2 separate regions of the Homo sapiens genome follow, and region 1 is linked to region 2. The links are contacts of gene promoters, found by promoter capture Hi-C in human tissues and cell types (Jung and others, 2019). All regions are on one chromosome and are shown on one strand. Each heading gives the region's core, a stretch centred on a gene start or on the middle of the fragment in contact. The rest is flanking DNA. Distances are from core to core; before and after follow the strand shown. Region 1 has its middle 140 kb from the start of SCG2. Region 2 holds the start of KCNE4 (potassium voltage-gated channel subfamily E regulatory subunit 4).

Evidence for each region. Contacts are between HindIII fragments. The study calls those that stand out against the background at their distance.
Region 1: a contact is called between a fragment that was not itself captured here and the fragment with the promoter of KCNE4 in region 2, in 1 of the 25 tissues and cell types used here (IMR-90 fibroblasts).

The regions. Positions count from the first base shown.
Region 1 is chr2:223,456,738-223,464,158 of GRCh38, reverse strand. No RefSeq gene overlaps it. Among named protein-coding and RNA genes, the nearest start is that of SCG2, 140 kb to the left of the region's middle. The HindIII fragment of the contact is 5,697 bases long and covers 2,544-7,421 here.
Region 2 is chr2:223,047,286-223,054,314 of GRCh38, reverse strand. It overlaps KCNE4 (potassium voltage-gated channel subfamily E regulatory subunit 4), which reads right to left and starts at 2,125. Exons shown (of 2, transcript NM_080671.4): 1 at 2,041-2,125; 2 at 1-1,507. The coding sequence starts at 1,484. The coding sequence ends at 972. RefSeq lists enhancers at 1,270-1,817, 5,470-5,529. The HindIII fragment of the contact is 5,924 bases long and covers 1,040-6,963 here.

The DNA of each region.
Region 1 (7,421 bases), core at 4,143-6,642, 410 kb before region 2:
TGAAATCTGGTAAGGAAACAGATCCGAACCATATAATTCTATCTCTGCCCCCCAACTCTAAAATCTCATGTCCCTCTCATTGTGAAATACAATTATGCCTTCCCAACAGTCCCCCAAAGTCTTAACTCATTCCATCATTAACATAAAAATCCAAACTCAAAAGTCTCATCTGAGACAAGGCAAGTCTGTTCCACCTATGAGCCTGTAAAACCAAAAACAAGTTAGTTACTCCCAAGACATAATGGGAGTACAGGCATTAAGAAATAATCCCATTCCAAAAGGGAGAAATTCACCAAAAGAAAGTGGCTACAGGCCCCATGCAAGCCTGAAACCCAGCAGGGCCATTATTATATCTCAAAGCTCCACAATAGTCTCCCTTGACTCCATATCTCACATACAGGGCACACTGGTGTAAGGGGTGGGCTCCCAAGGTCTTGGGCATCTCTGTCCATGAGGCTTTGCAGGATTCAGCTCCTGTGGTTAATCGCAAGGGCTGGTGTTGAGTGCCTGAGGCTTGTCCAGGTGCAGGGGGCAAGCTGTCAGTAGATTGTGACAGACCCCGTTGTGGGGTCTGGAGGATGGTGGCCCTCTTTTCACAGCTCCAAATGGCAGTGCCCCATTGGAGACTCTGTATGGGGGCTCCAACCCCTCATTTCCCCTCTGTGCTGCCCTAGTAGAGGTCCTCCATAAGGGCTTCGGCCTGGACATCCAAGCTTTTTCATACATCTTCAGAAATCTAGGCTTCCAAGCCTCAGCTATGACACTCTGCATGCCCAAAGGCTTACTACCACGTGGAAGCTGCCAAGGCCTATGGCTTTCACCCTCTGAAGCAGTGGCACGAGCTGTACCTGGGCCCCTTTTAACTCCAGCTGGAGCTGAAGTAGCTGGGATGCAGGGAGCAGTGTCCCAAAGCTGTGCAGGGCAGTAGGGCCCTGGGCCTGGCCCACTAAACCAAACTTTCCTCCTAGGTTTCTTAGCCTGTGGTGGGAGGGGCTGCCTAGAAGGTCTCTGAAATGTCTTCAAGGCCTTCTCCCCATTGTCTATTAGCACTTGGCTCCTCTTTTACTTATGAAAATTTCTGCAGCCTGCTTGAACTGCTCCCTTGAAAATGGCATTTTCTTTGCTATCACATGGCCAGGCTGCAAATTTTCCAATCTTTTATGCTCTTCTTTTCTTTTAAATATAAGTTCCAGTTTCAGGTCATTTCTTTGTTCACACATATAAGCATAGGTTGTTAGAAGTAGCCAGGCTATCCTGAATGTTTTGTTGCTTAAAATTTCTTCTGCCAAAAACCCTTAATCATTACTCTCAAGTTTAAAGTTCTACAGATCCCTAGAGCAGGGGCATAATGCAACTCTTACGTGCATCCATGTGAAGAGACCACCAAACAGGCTTTGTGTGAGCAATAAAGCTTTTTAATCACCTGAGTGCAGGTGGACTGAGTCTGAAAAAGGAGTCAGCAAAGGGAGGTGGGGTGGGCCAGTTTTATAGGATTTGGGTAGGTAGTGGAAAATTACAGTTAAAGGTGGTTTTCTCTTGCGGGCAGGGGCGGGGGTCACAAGGTGCTTGGTGGGGAGCTCCTGAGACTCATTGTCCAGGAGAAGGAATGTCACAAGGTCCATTGATCAGTTAGGGTGGGGCAGGAACAAATCACAATGGTGGAATGTCATCAGTTAAGGCAGGAACTGGCTGTTTCACTTCTTTTGTGGTTCTTCAGTTGTTTCAGGCCATCTGGATGTATACGTGCAGGTCACAGGGGTTATGATGGCTTAGCTTGGGCTCAGAGGCCTGACAGCAACTAGACTCTTTGCTAAAGCATAGCAAAAGTGACCTTTACTCCAGTTCCCAATAAGTTCCTCATTTCCATCTGAGACCTCCTCAGCCTCAACTTCACTCTCCATATCACTATCAACATTTTAGTTACAACCATTCAACAAGTCTTTTGGAAGTTCTAAACTTTTCCTCAACTTCCTGTCTTCTTCTGAGCCCTCCAAACCGTTCCAACCTCTGCCTGCCCATTATCCAGTTTCAAAGCTGCTTCCACATTTTCAGGTATCATTATAATAATGCCCCACTCCTCAGTACCAATTTTCCATATTAGTTTGTTCTTGCATTGCTATACATAAATACCTGAGACTGGATAATTTATTTAAAAAAGAGCTTTAATTGGCTCACAGTTCCACCGAATGTACAGGAAGCATGATGCTGGCATCTGCTTGGCTACCGAGGAGGCTTCGGGAAACTTGCAATCATGGCAGAAGGCAAAGAGGGAGCCAGCGCTTCACATGGCTGGAAAGGAGGAAGAGAGAGATGGTGGAAGGAGGTGTCACACACTTTTAAACAACCAGATCTGGTGAGAACTCACTCACTATACATTACCAAGGAGGCATGGTACTAAACCATTCATGAGAAGTCCACCCCCATGATCTAATCACCTCCCACTAGGCCCCACCTCAAAGACTGGGGATTACAGGTCAACATGAGATTTGGTAGGGACATAGATCCAAACCATATCAAGAGATTGGAGAGGAAGAAGATAGGTATTGGACATAGTGGCTGGGGGTAGCAGTATCTGTTTACATCTTTATAAGCTCTGGAGAGGTTGTCTCATCTTCATTTTTTGCAGCTCTTTTTAGGATGCAGTTACTTTCAGTATTTCAAGCCTCACTTTGGCTCTCTATGTCCAATTCCAAGGCAACAGAATAAGTCCAACAACAAGCTGTCACTTGGCATAACTGAGTAGCGACATGCACGTTAAAATTTTTCACTATATACCACATATGTAATCTCTATGGCTTGGGGCACTGATTCAAATCAGTTTTTTCCTGCTATTAATAATTTATTATTATTTTTTAGTGATAAATATGTATATATAGTTTAAAAGTCTAATACTAGTATGAGATTAATAAGAAAGCAGTGTCTTGCCTATATCTCAAGAAGAATCAGCCAATATCCAGTCCAGGGCTTGAGAGCTGGGTGGGGCAGGAAGCTGACTGCCTGGCTCTTTGGTATCCAGATTTCCACTCATTACCCTTGTTTTCAGCCCTATGATACACTGCTCCCTCAGCTTGCCTCTCCAGGAAAGTTACCTTACTCAGTGTCTGGGGGTGCAAATTTAGGGGTGTGAGTGCTCAATCAACTAGGTCTTGTGTTCCCAGCTCCACATCCTAGGCTTATTCAGAAGATTCTAACCCCTCTTATCACTGTGCCTTTGAGGGTCTATGGCATGAATCAGCTTGCTTGTTATTGTCATTTCCTCCACCCCCAACAGACAGTTTGGTTTCAACATTTCTGCTCTGTAAATGAGTTATGACTCATCCATCTATTTTCCAACTTCCAAAATTCTGTTGACAATCTGGCCTTCCCTCTTCTCTTCTCCTGCACTCTTGTCTTTGTAGACAGGCATAAAATTATTACCTTATGTCCTTTAACTGGTATTGAAAGAGGTGCTGGGGTGGAGCAAAGAATAAGCACATATGATCTGTCTGCCGTATTCGTCCACAAATCTCTTTCGTTTGTTTCTTAAAATCCTTAAATTGTGTATGAATATTACCTGCAGGAAATAATGCATGCATAACAATTCTACTTCTTTAGATTAAAAACAAGCTATTCCTCTCCTTTTGAACCACTTAAAAATTGCCTATAATCTAATGTGATTCAATAAATCTATAAAGCTTGTGTGCTCCCAGTAGCAATTGAGATAAAGCAGCAAGTGTGGCTGCCATTGGGGTCAGTTGGCAGCACCTGGTTGCCATGGTCACGGGCTCTTTAAAAATGGAGCAAATACTTAATGAAACACTATATCCTTCTCCTCAGCACTAGTCATTTATAGTATTCAAATATTTACAGGTATAGCAGACTCACTGAGTTTCAAAAATATAAAAATGGTCCTGCTTCCTAAAAAGCATATATTTGCTACTAGCAGTAAAAAGGACTTAAATAAATCAAATTCTTGCTTTTGACAAGCAGATGCTAAAAGAAAACTAAAATATCATCTTCTAGGACTTGATTTTAGTTTACCTTCAGAGATCATTCACTTCCCTACCAAAAGATTGACTTCATTTTTTAAAATTAGTTATGGATTACATCCATTTGGTGAATAAGGGTCCTACGATCTTTCTCTCTGCTTATTTACACTTAATATTAGTGACTATTAACATTAAATATAGATGTATTTTATGTCACCACAGATGGAGATTTCCATTTGAGATATCTTAGACTTTCAAATGACTTAGCAAACATCAAGCAGCCAATCGTTTTTCTCCAAAGATCCTTCTGCTGTGCTTTGACTCAGAGAGCCTAGAAAATTCTGAAGTGATGCTTCATTAGAAAAGTGTGGTAAATTCCAGAGGCGTACATGAGGAAAATGTAATTCTCTAGGTAGATTTATTTTTCTCTTTTCATTGGGGAAAGTTGTGAGGAGGTAATAAATTGGAGAACAAATTTGTGGTTGATTGAAGTTTCTCTGCTGCTTTCTGAGACAACTAGAATAGCTCAATGTAAACACACATTCCAACATTTATCCCAGGCAAAAATTATATATTTTAATACTGAAATTAGGAGAACAGTCGTTACTTTGTAGTCTATTGGTCTCTAGATGACAGGAAAAGATGAGCTCCCTCTGGTGGTGAATTTAACAATAATAATAAACAAATGTTATTGTTTAATAACTAAAAGACCTGATTGAATTTAAAGGATCATTCGGTTGTCAGCAAGAGGCATCCTCCAAATTACCATTTTAGATTCTTTCCCAGGCTCTGGTTGAGGGAAATAGGTCAACACAGAATATTTATCCTTTTATTTGGCTAGAGTCATCTGGGATTTGAAGTAAAAAGGTGACTCAAAAATCCAGGGGTAAATGTTTTGTCATCTAGTGCCTCTCTCTCATTCACTCACTCTCTCATTGAGTGTCCCATATGGGGAAATACAGGAATCTTGTGGGCTGAAGCTGCAATGCTGAGAAACTGACCTATTCTCCACCATCATTGTAGTTTATGGTGAATTGGCATATCCTTCTTGTCTTTGTGGTAGTTGGAGGAGGGATTCGTTGGTATTAACTTTTCTTCCGTTATGTGCAGCAAGCAGGATTTTACCCTGTTCTCTTGACTTTGTATAAAGGCGTAAAATTGTATACATTATATAGTTTTGCTGTTATAGAAGGAGGTTCTGGAATGGAGTAGAGAAAAACAAATGTGATCAGTCTGCTTTGTATACCATCTCTCCGCATTTTAATTAAAAAAGTATTTTTATACAGAATTGCAAAGAGGCTTAGATGTGATACATACTTTATATTTGGCTTTAAAAAATATGAAATTGGAACATCGAATAGAGGCTACCTTATAAAGTAATTATCTATAGTAAGTCCTTCCTCTGGGCAGCAGCTTTCCTTTTTAGTTCTAAATTTAAAGCCTTGAATGCAGGTTTTATCACTCAGTTTTCACATATATAAAATAACTAGAATGAAGACTATGAATTCACAATTACTCAAGAATCTATTCTTCTTTACAGCTTCTTGGGTTAAATTTTTTAATTTATTCATTAATGTAGTTATTAAAATAAAAGTTTTTAGGCTATCATTGAAAGGAAAGAGTAAAAATTTTAAGGCACCAATATTTTTGTGAAAATTAAATTTCAATGAGGAGTATATATTACTTTGCAGCATGATTGTGCATACATGAAGCATTCAATAAATGATCTTCATTTTTTAAAAATTCTAACAGCAAAAACATTCTGGCTACCACGATGTTTCTTTCTCAAAATAATATTCTTGAAGTTACAGTTTGATCCTGTCAAAATAAGACAAACAAATAAAAAACACCTGTCTTTCATATTATTATGACTTGAAGACTTAAAGTCGATTCCATCAAACTAAGACAGACATATAAGGAATCATATTCTGTCAGAATTATGGGAAAAAGATAAAGTCCTTTTGATGAGAATTGAAATGTGGTTTTCCTTTTTTTTCCTGTCAGAGTAAGGAAAAGACTGAGAGGCATATAATTTGAAATTTCTATATATCATACCATATATATCAGAAAGGTAAACCATCAGGGCTTGAAGCTGAATGCAGTGGTTGCAAGAGCTGGCTGTGCATCAGAATAACCTGGGGAGCTCATTAAAATCACAGAATCCTAAAGCTGCCTCCAGAGGGTCTAACGCAGCAGGTCTAGGGTGAGGCCAAGGTATCGATACTTTTGACAAGTGTCCTCCCATGACTCAAGCAGGGGCCCACCAGCAATATCCCAGAACCATTCCTCTCCACGGCTACCCCTTCTTGACTCTGAAATTCACATCCAAATAACAATAACTGTACTGCTATTGCCACTTTGTAAGAGGACCCTTCCTTGGCCATCCTACATGAGGAGCACTGCCCCATTACTCTCCATTGCCTAATCTTGTGTATCAGTCAGGATAGGCTTGGCTATGCTCCAAATTTTTATTGGCTTTAAATAATGAAAGTTATTTTTTTACTCACATTAATTTTCCAAGTATGGCAACACTTTAGCTAAGGCACCTTCCATGTGGTGGCTCAGCACTTCAGTTTTCTTCATCTCATGACACCTTCAAGTCAACATATGCTTTCCTGATTGCCACATCAAAGGAAGAAAGAGCTGGAGAGCTGAACACCAGCCATCCAATACTTTAGCTTGGCAGTTGCATTGCCGTTCTACTCACATGTTACTGGCTAGAACTAGTCAAATAGTGATGAATGACCAAGAGGGTGGAGAAGTACAACCCACATATACTCAGAAGTACAGGAAATCCAGATGTTTATTAGCAATGTTTATCCCACGATGTTTTATTTTTGTCTATCACACTCACCTATTTCTCATATCTTCTCCATCAATTTGTTCTTTCGATTTGTTTATTCTTGTCTGTCTTCTCACTAAATTGAAAAGTTTTTGAGATCAGAATCTTTATCACCAATGACTGTTACTCTGCCTGGGTTACAGTGAGCACATGAAGAAATGGATGAATACATGCAGAAGGAGGGTTACCGAATAGAATTCAGTCAGTCATTTAAATTAGGATAATAAGGGGGAAAACATCCCAGATACAATAACTGTTTGTTTCTTTAGCCTGTTTATTTCTTTAATTAGTTGATTAAACATTCATTGAGTACCTACATTCTTCAAGGCACACAAAACTGATTGTACCAATATAATCATAATCACACCTCAGATTTACAGTATCTTCTGGAAAAGAGGATTATAAAACACTAGAATCTTGTCATCTAATGATAAACTAGCAGTGATTACCTGTCTTACAAAAGCTTCATTATTTTCTAGACAATCCACACTAGGATTCCTCTCAACAGCAATCTCCCCAGAACTTATGATATGATTCAATTACATACAAGCTCTTAGGAATATATCTACAAGTCAACCACGGTTTAAGTAATGCTTTTGTTCTAAAGAGGT
Region 2 (7,029 bases), core at 876-3,375:
GGGATCAGGAAGCACAGAACTTGGAGCCCAGCTTTGTGCAATCTCCGCCTGAGTATGCCCTTCTAGGTCTCAGCTACGTGACGAAATACCACATTATGTCCTCTCCCAGCTCAGAAAACTAGGCTGGGAAACTGAGCAGCAGCAGAGCTAACGGCTTGGCCTTGTTCAACCCCACTTTACCCCTTCTAGAAAGATCAGGAAGAGTCTCCTGAACCACCATCGGGAGTGCAGGTTAGATTCTGGGGAAGCTCTTCTGATCCAAAGAACGTCATGCCATCATGTGATGCTGCATGGTCACAGGTCAGAGTTCAAGGTCATAAGTTAGACAAAAGGTCAAAATAGAAGATCATCTCTTATAACCCCGGCCAATGTTAACAGGTTTAAAAGTTACTTTTTTTTCTTATAGTGTGCAAATGGGCTGGGTTCAGATCTCCAGCTTTCTCCCATCAAAAATCCCCCTCTAATCCAAAAGAAGCTTGTAACCCACTGTGAAGGAATGCCACAGGTACACAGTAGAGATACTTACAGCCAATCAGATCTAGAAGGACAAAGCTCTAGGCAAAATAGCAAATCACAACTAGTCTCTCAGCGTGTCCTAAGCATTCGGCAGCCCTGGGAACAGGCAGACCCTGCAGGAGCTACCCAGGGCATCCAGTGAGAAAATGGCAAACATATCATCCCGCCAAATTCTGATCAGAACCCCAACACCCAGGCCCCAAAGTCAGTGTACGCGCTGCGCATCTCCGCGGCTTTTTCAGTGGTGGGTGCAAACCACAGGCACCTCCCGGACTCCTTGGAGGTGCTGGTTCCGGCTGAGCCTAGTCCCCCACCCCACCCCGAATCAGGGGTTTACCAAGGGTCTCTTCAAAGTGGCAGCCGCACTGTGAAAGTGAAACCAGACACTTGAAAACTGTCTTTCCTCTCTCTAAGGTTGCTGGCTGATGGAGCCACCGGCAGGGGTCCCGGGGGTGCTAGGAATTCTGATGGATGTTCTCCGAGGACCCTTCGCTGCTCTCGTTGAGGGGCGTCTCCGAGGTCTCCTCCAGCTCATCGTCTGCCCCCTCCTCCTGAATGGTGAGGTGCACGTCCGGGGAGGAGGACTCGGAGCTCACGCTGTCCCCTTCCATGGAACAGAGGGTGCAGGACAGCGCGGGCGCCACGCTCTCCTGCAGCATGTTCAGCATCAGGGGCACCTGCACCGACCTCAGGCCCGACACCACAGGCAGCGGCTTCATGGCCTCCCCCCAGAGCCGCTCCTCGTCTTTGTACAGCAGCAGGAGGCTGGACTTCTTCTCCCGCCTCTTGGATTTCATGTAGCCCAGCATGATTCCGATCAAGAAAATGCCGTAGAAGGACATGACAACCAGAATGTAGAAGTACTCGTTGCCATTGCCGCTGCCGCCGCCGGCCGCACGGGACTCCAGGGGGCTGCTGGAGGCGGCGGTGCCGGGGTGCGTGCTGTTCAGAGGCTCCATTTTCAGCATTGAGGCTGCCTCCACAGCAGGGGCTGGGGAAAAAGCCGCAGGTTAGAACTCTCCCCCAGGTCCTGGGCACAGGGAGGTGGGGGAGCACGAGGTTTGTGGAACTGCAATACCAAAAAAGCTTAAAAGTGCATGAAAGAAATAGCATAAGAGGGTTCGCCAAACAGCTGACAAGAGTGAGCTATGAGGGCTTGGAGTGCACGGGAGAGAAGCCCGGGAAGGTTCACTGGGAAAAGTAAGAAGGACTTTTTTTTTTTTTTTTAGTGTACACATTTGTCCTGTTTGTAGTGAGCAGTATTACTTTGATTAAAAAAAAAATCAATGTAAGACAGGAGCATACAGTAAATAGTATCTTTAAAACTGGGAAACGTATTTTAACTGAGCAGAAACAAAGTTTACATTGTGTTTCCAAAACCAAACTATTTTAAATTCAAAACAATGTTTCCTTAGAACAAAGAAAAGCAGGAAGAAAATAAAGGAAAAAAATTCATCTATTAATTGGCAAAAATGTCCCTCTTTCAAATGTTTCTGAAAGCAAAGTGTAGCCTTGCTGACTTACCAAGGCTGACAGTTTGTCCCAAGTTTTGAATTCCCAAATCGTCCAGTCCAAGAGGGTTCTTCTGCTCTGTCCGGCTCTGCGCTCTGACAACTCCGCTGCTGCAGTTGGGATATATAGTCAAGAAGTGCATCGTCACGTGCTCTGGGAGGAAAATTTACAACAGAGATTGATCGTGGCAGAGTGAGCAGTGAACTGAAAGCACTGCAGTTCAACTCCCTGAACTTTGCAGCTGTGAAAAGTGAAAAAGACTGGGAAGTGGGAACTGCTCCTCAAGCCCCAGCACCCGGCCAGGGTTTTCAGGTAGCGGTGACGATGAGTGAAAAGAGGAGAAAGGGATGTGCTGTGCTGGAACCGTTACCCCAAAGTCCGCGCTCACTGAAAATTAGCTCATGCTTCGCGCGGCTCCTGGGGAATAACCATTATTGGGCTACAGGTTTTCAGAGGCAGCTGAATCCCATAATCTGGATGAAAGACAGTTGGAAGCAAGTGCGGGATTTACAGTCAAGGAACTGGGGCTTCGGTTTCAGTTCTTCCACTCCTTATGCAAATAAGATAAATCCTTCCTTAACCTCTCCGCACCTCACATTCCTCGTCTGTAAAATCGTTGTGCCTGGCGGGGGGGGGGGTCTTCTGCAGGTAGGATTATATAAACCACGTGACCTTTTGAGACCCTTTCAGCTTAACCCTTCTAAGATTGAAGGCTGCCTGGTGTTGCTTAGCCCTCTAAAAGCAGAGATTCTAGCTGCCTTCCACATCAAGGTCACAAACCTATGTTTATAATAATTTTTTTTTAAAAGCTCCCACATTCTTTTCAGTGGTCTGCATTAAGTGGAAACATGTTGTCGTAAAAGATACTATGGGCAGGTTTTGTTCCGTCCTGCCATACACAGCTGCTCCTCTGAAGCCTCATGCGGAGGCTATTGACACGTCTCTTTGCTGTCTCTCGTAGGTCAGGGGAGGAGCAGGACTATTTCAGAGTGCAACTAAGCACAGTTCAAGTTTTTTAAACCTCGGTAGACCCTGTGTTTAAATGGCTGCTGTGATCAAAATTGGAAGAGGAATTGCAGGCTTTAATGTCAGTCTCTCTGCTCCCTGGGCTGCTTATTCTGAGGCTTTCATGCTAAGTGGAAGGAAACTGGGAGAGATCCACTCCCTCCAGTTGTCTGTGGCCTGTGGATTGCAGCCAGACTGTCTTGTGGGCCAACTCTAAAGGAAACATCTCTCATGGTTCTGCTGTAGTCAAACTGACGCATGCGACATCCACCTGACCTGCTTGAACATATATAGCTTAGGCACTGGAATTTTCACTGCTGCTACAGGAACCCCCCTGGGTTTGCACCTGATCCTGATTCTAAGAAGACACCTGGAGGAAGAATAGGAAGATGAACTGAATGCTGCCATTTTTCCCACTTGACTACTCACCTGTGTTCATCCATAAATCCCCAGCTGGCACTGGAGGTACCAACCATCGACCACTCCAGCATCACGATCATCCATACAGTGGAACTGTGCTCACACCAGTAAAGATACCCTCACCATTGTGTTAATACGTAAAACCCTCCATAGCTACCTCAGCCATGGTAGACTTGGTCTTTTCAACAGGTGTCCATCATAAACACTAGAACACTTCCATCTATATCTAAGCCTACACTGGAATGTCTGGGACACTAGAACAAGATGGGCCCAAGAAAGAGATGCCTGTTGATTGTTGACCCTGGTATTTTTTATTGTATACCTTAGGACATACGAGATTGGTCATCATCCAGGGATTGTCCAACACCAAAGACTGGAAGCTTTGAGTAGGCAGAAAGGAGGTGGGGATAGGAGTTACCAGATTCAAGGAGCAGGAAGTACAAAGCCTGGTGCCAGGAAGCCAAACAGAGGCTGAAGTTTTAAACATAATAAATCCCCAAACCTGAGCCAACAGTCCCAAGGGAATACAACCAAGAAAAGAGATGAGTGTGGGGAAACATCGAGAATGAATTCCAAAGGACGAAGCAAGTCAGAGCCAAAGGAAAAGCAGGACTAATTGCAGGAGTCAGGGAAGGAACAGCCCAGAAGAAATTCTGGGGTGCCTGCTTGGAGTCCCTGCTGCCCCGATTCCCACATACTTCCTGCATGGATATTTCTACTAGAGTTAAACGAGGCCAACTGCAGTGTCTTAGTTCAGTAATCCCAATGCTTGAAGAGGCTGAGGTGGATGAATCACTTGAACCCAGGTGTTTGAGACCAGCGTGGGCAACACAGTGAGACCCCATCTCTACAAAAAAATACAAAAATTAACTAGGCCTGGTGGCGAGTGCCTGTAGTCCCAGCTACTTGGGAGGCTGGGGTGGGAGGATCACTCGAGACCAGGAGTTCAAGGCTGCAATGAGGTCTGAACATGCCACTACACTCCAGCCTGGGTGACAGAGCGAGATCTCTAAATAAATAGAATAGAATAGAATAGAATAGAATAGAATAGAACAGAACAGAATAAAATAGTTCAATGAAATGATGCAAAGAAAGCACCATGTCTGGCCAAATGCACATGCTCAGTGCCTGTGTTTAGTTGTCATTGTTAGGAGTACGCTGTTGCTCCCAAGGGCTTCAGGTTGCCTCCTGTCATGTGTGTGCCCATCTCCAGACTTTTAACTCCAGACTTTTTATCACTGCTCCTTCCCCTGTCTGTCACTCCCAGGAATGGAATTTAAGAGAAGGGAATTCCAACTTCAAAATGCATAGCTCAATCTTCTTCCCAGCCCTCACTCATGACAGGGATTGCGAGAATGATGGCACTGAATAATGGCATAAAGAATGAGGGAGAGAGGGTACATCTAGAAAGTGCACTCTGTCGGGAGAGGATGGGACTGCACAAGAATTATTAATTATATCTACCCCGGGCCTCAGTTTTAGGAGACAGCAATGTTAAAGAAATAAATCAATTTCGGCTAGCATTTCCATTTCCTGAACAGTGTCTTTTCAGGAGCAAACATATCTAATTCTGATGAAGTCCAATTTATTTTAAATGTTTTTGGTTGTGCTGTTTGAATCCTATCAAAGAAATATTTGCTTAACCCAGTCATGAGGATTTTCTCCTGTTTTGCTTCTAGAAGTTTTATGGTTTCAGCCTTACATTTAGGTCTATGATACATTTCAAGTTAATTTTAGTCTAAAATGTAAGATATAGGTCAAGGATTTTGGGGAGGGGTTGTTTGTTTTTGTTTTGCTTATGGATGTCCAATTGCTCCAGCATCATTTGTTGAAAAGACTCCTTTTCCTATTTAAAATTATCTTGGAAACTTTGTTGAAAATCAATTAACCTTATATAAGCAGGTCTATTTCTTAACTCTTCATTCTGTTCCTTTGATCTATCTGTCTATCTTTGCATCGATATTATTCTGTTTTGATAAATCCATTTTAAACTTGTATTTTAAATGAGTCTAAGATACACTGCAGTTCAAATCTAGCTTAGTGTCTATCATATACCAAGTACACATAAGTCCTGTGAGGTCAGGTATTATTACAACCATTTCATAGATAAGGAAACTGAAAGTCAAAGAGTCAAAGAGGCAAAGTTGCTCCAGGTCAAATCACTAGCAGTACAGTCAGTACTTGACCCCAGATCTATGCAACTCCAAAACCCATTCTTTTTCCACTACCTTTTGTCTCACTGAATGGAAAACAAAAAGAAACTGAGAAAGAGTAGGAAGTGAAAGATGGACATTTTTCCAACTTCTTTTGAGTCTTCATAAAACTTTTTTTTTAAAAAAAATGTGAATTCTGACATAACTAGATACTCACACATAAATACACACGTGGAACTACAAGTTGTCTTTTTCTGAATTCATATTATTTTAAGTACTGGAGGCTGCACCAACCTCAGCATGTTCTAGAAGTTATCAGTGAAGCAGTAATACTCTTACCGTATACCTATGTTGTCCATAGTACAGTAGTTTCTCTGCCTACATATACAGCCTGATATGGTTTGGCTCTGTGTCCCCACCCAAATCTCACCTCGAATTGTAATCCTCACGTGTCAAAGGTGGGACCAGGTGGAGGTAATTGAATCATGGGGGCTGTTTCCCCCATGCTGCTCTCATGATAGTGACTGAGTCTCACGAGACCTGATGGTTTTATAAGCGTCTGGCATTTCCTTTGCTTGCACGCACTCCATCCTGCCACCCTGTAAAGAAGGTACCTGCTTCTCCTTTGCCTTCCGCCATGACTGTAAGTTTCCTGAGGCCTTCCCAGCAATACAGAACTGTGAGTCAGTGAAACCTCTTTCCTTTATGAATTACCCAGTCTCAGGTATGTCTTTATTAGCGATGTGAGAACAGACTAACATAAGCCTGTTCTGGTCTTCTTGTTTTAATGTGGGTTTTTTTGTTTGTTTGTTTGTTTGTTTTTTCCTATTTGATCCTGACACACACTTTCTCTAGAGCTTTGAGTACTTTCATTTCCTGGTAACGTCATTTTTACCAGATGACCCAGGAGTCCCTGGCCACACATCTCTGAAATTATGTTAACAGCTTCTGTGACTAAACAAAGTCTATGCTGGGATAACAGCATGGCTGTGAATCTCATCGGATTAAACGTAAGTCTGGAGTCCAGAAATCTGACCCAGCTCAGCCTTGCTGATGCTACGTGACTGGCTGGGTTGCATAATTGCTCTGTGTTTCAGTTTTAGCCACCCTCAGGCATGTCAAAAGTAGCATCATTAATTGTCTCAGGATCCTGAGAAATCTCCCATAATCCACTGGGCTGTCCCCCTCCTGAGCAGACCAGGCTTTGGGTCTGGCAGAATATTGCAAAATGAAATCCTCAGTGCCCACCACTGGTTTTGCTTTTCCCAGAAATTCTGTCTGAAAAGTTCTGTCTGGGAACTCGAGCAGTGGATCATCCCTTCTAATGCCCTGAGTCACCCTCCCTGGACACATACTTTTTAGCATTCCTATCACTAGAAATAAAACAGGGCTGGATATCTGACAGGTCCTTAGTAAGGTCCCC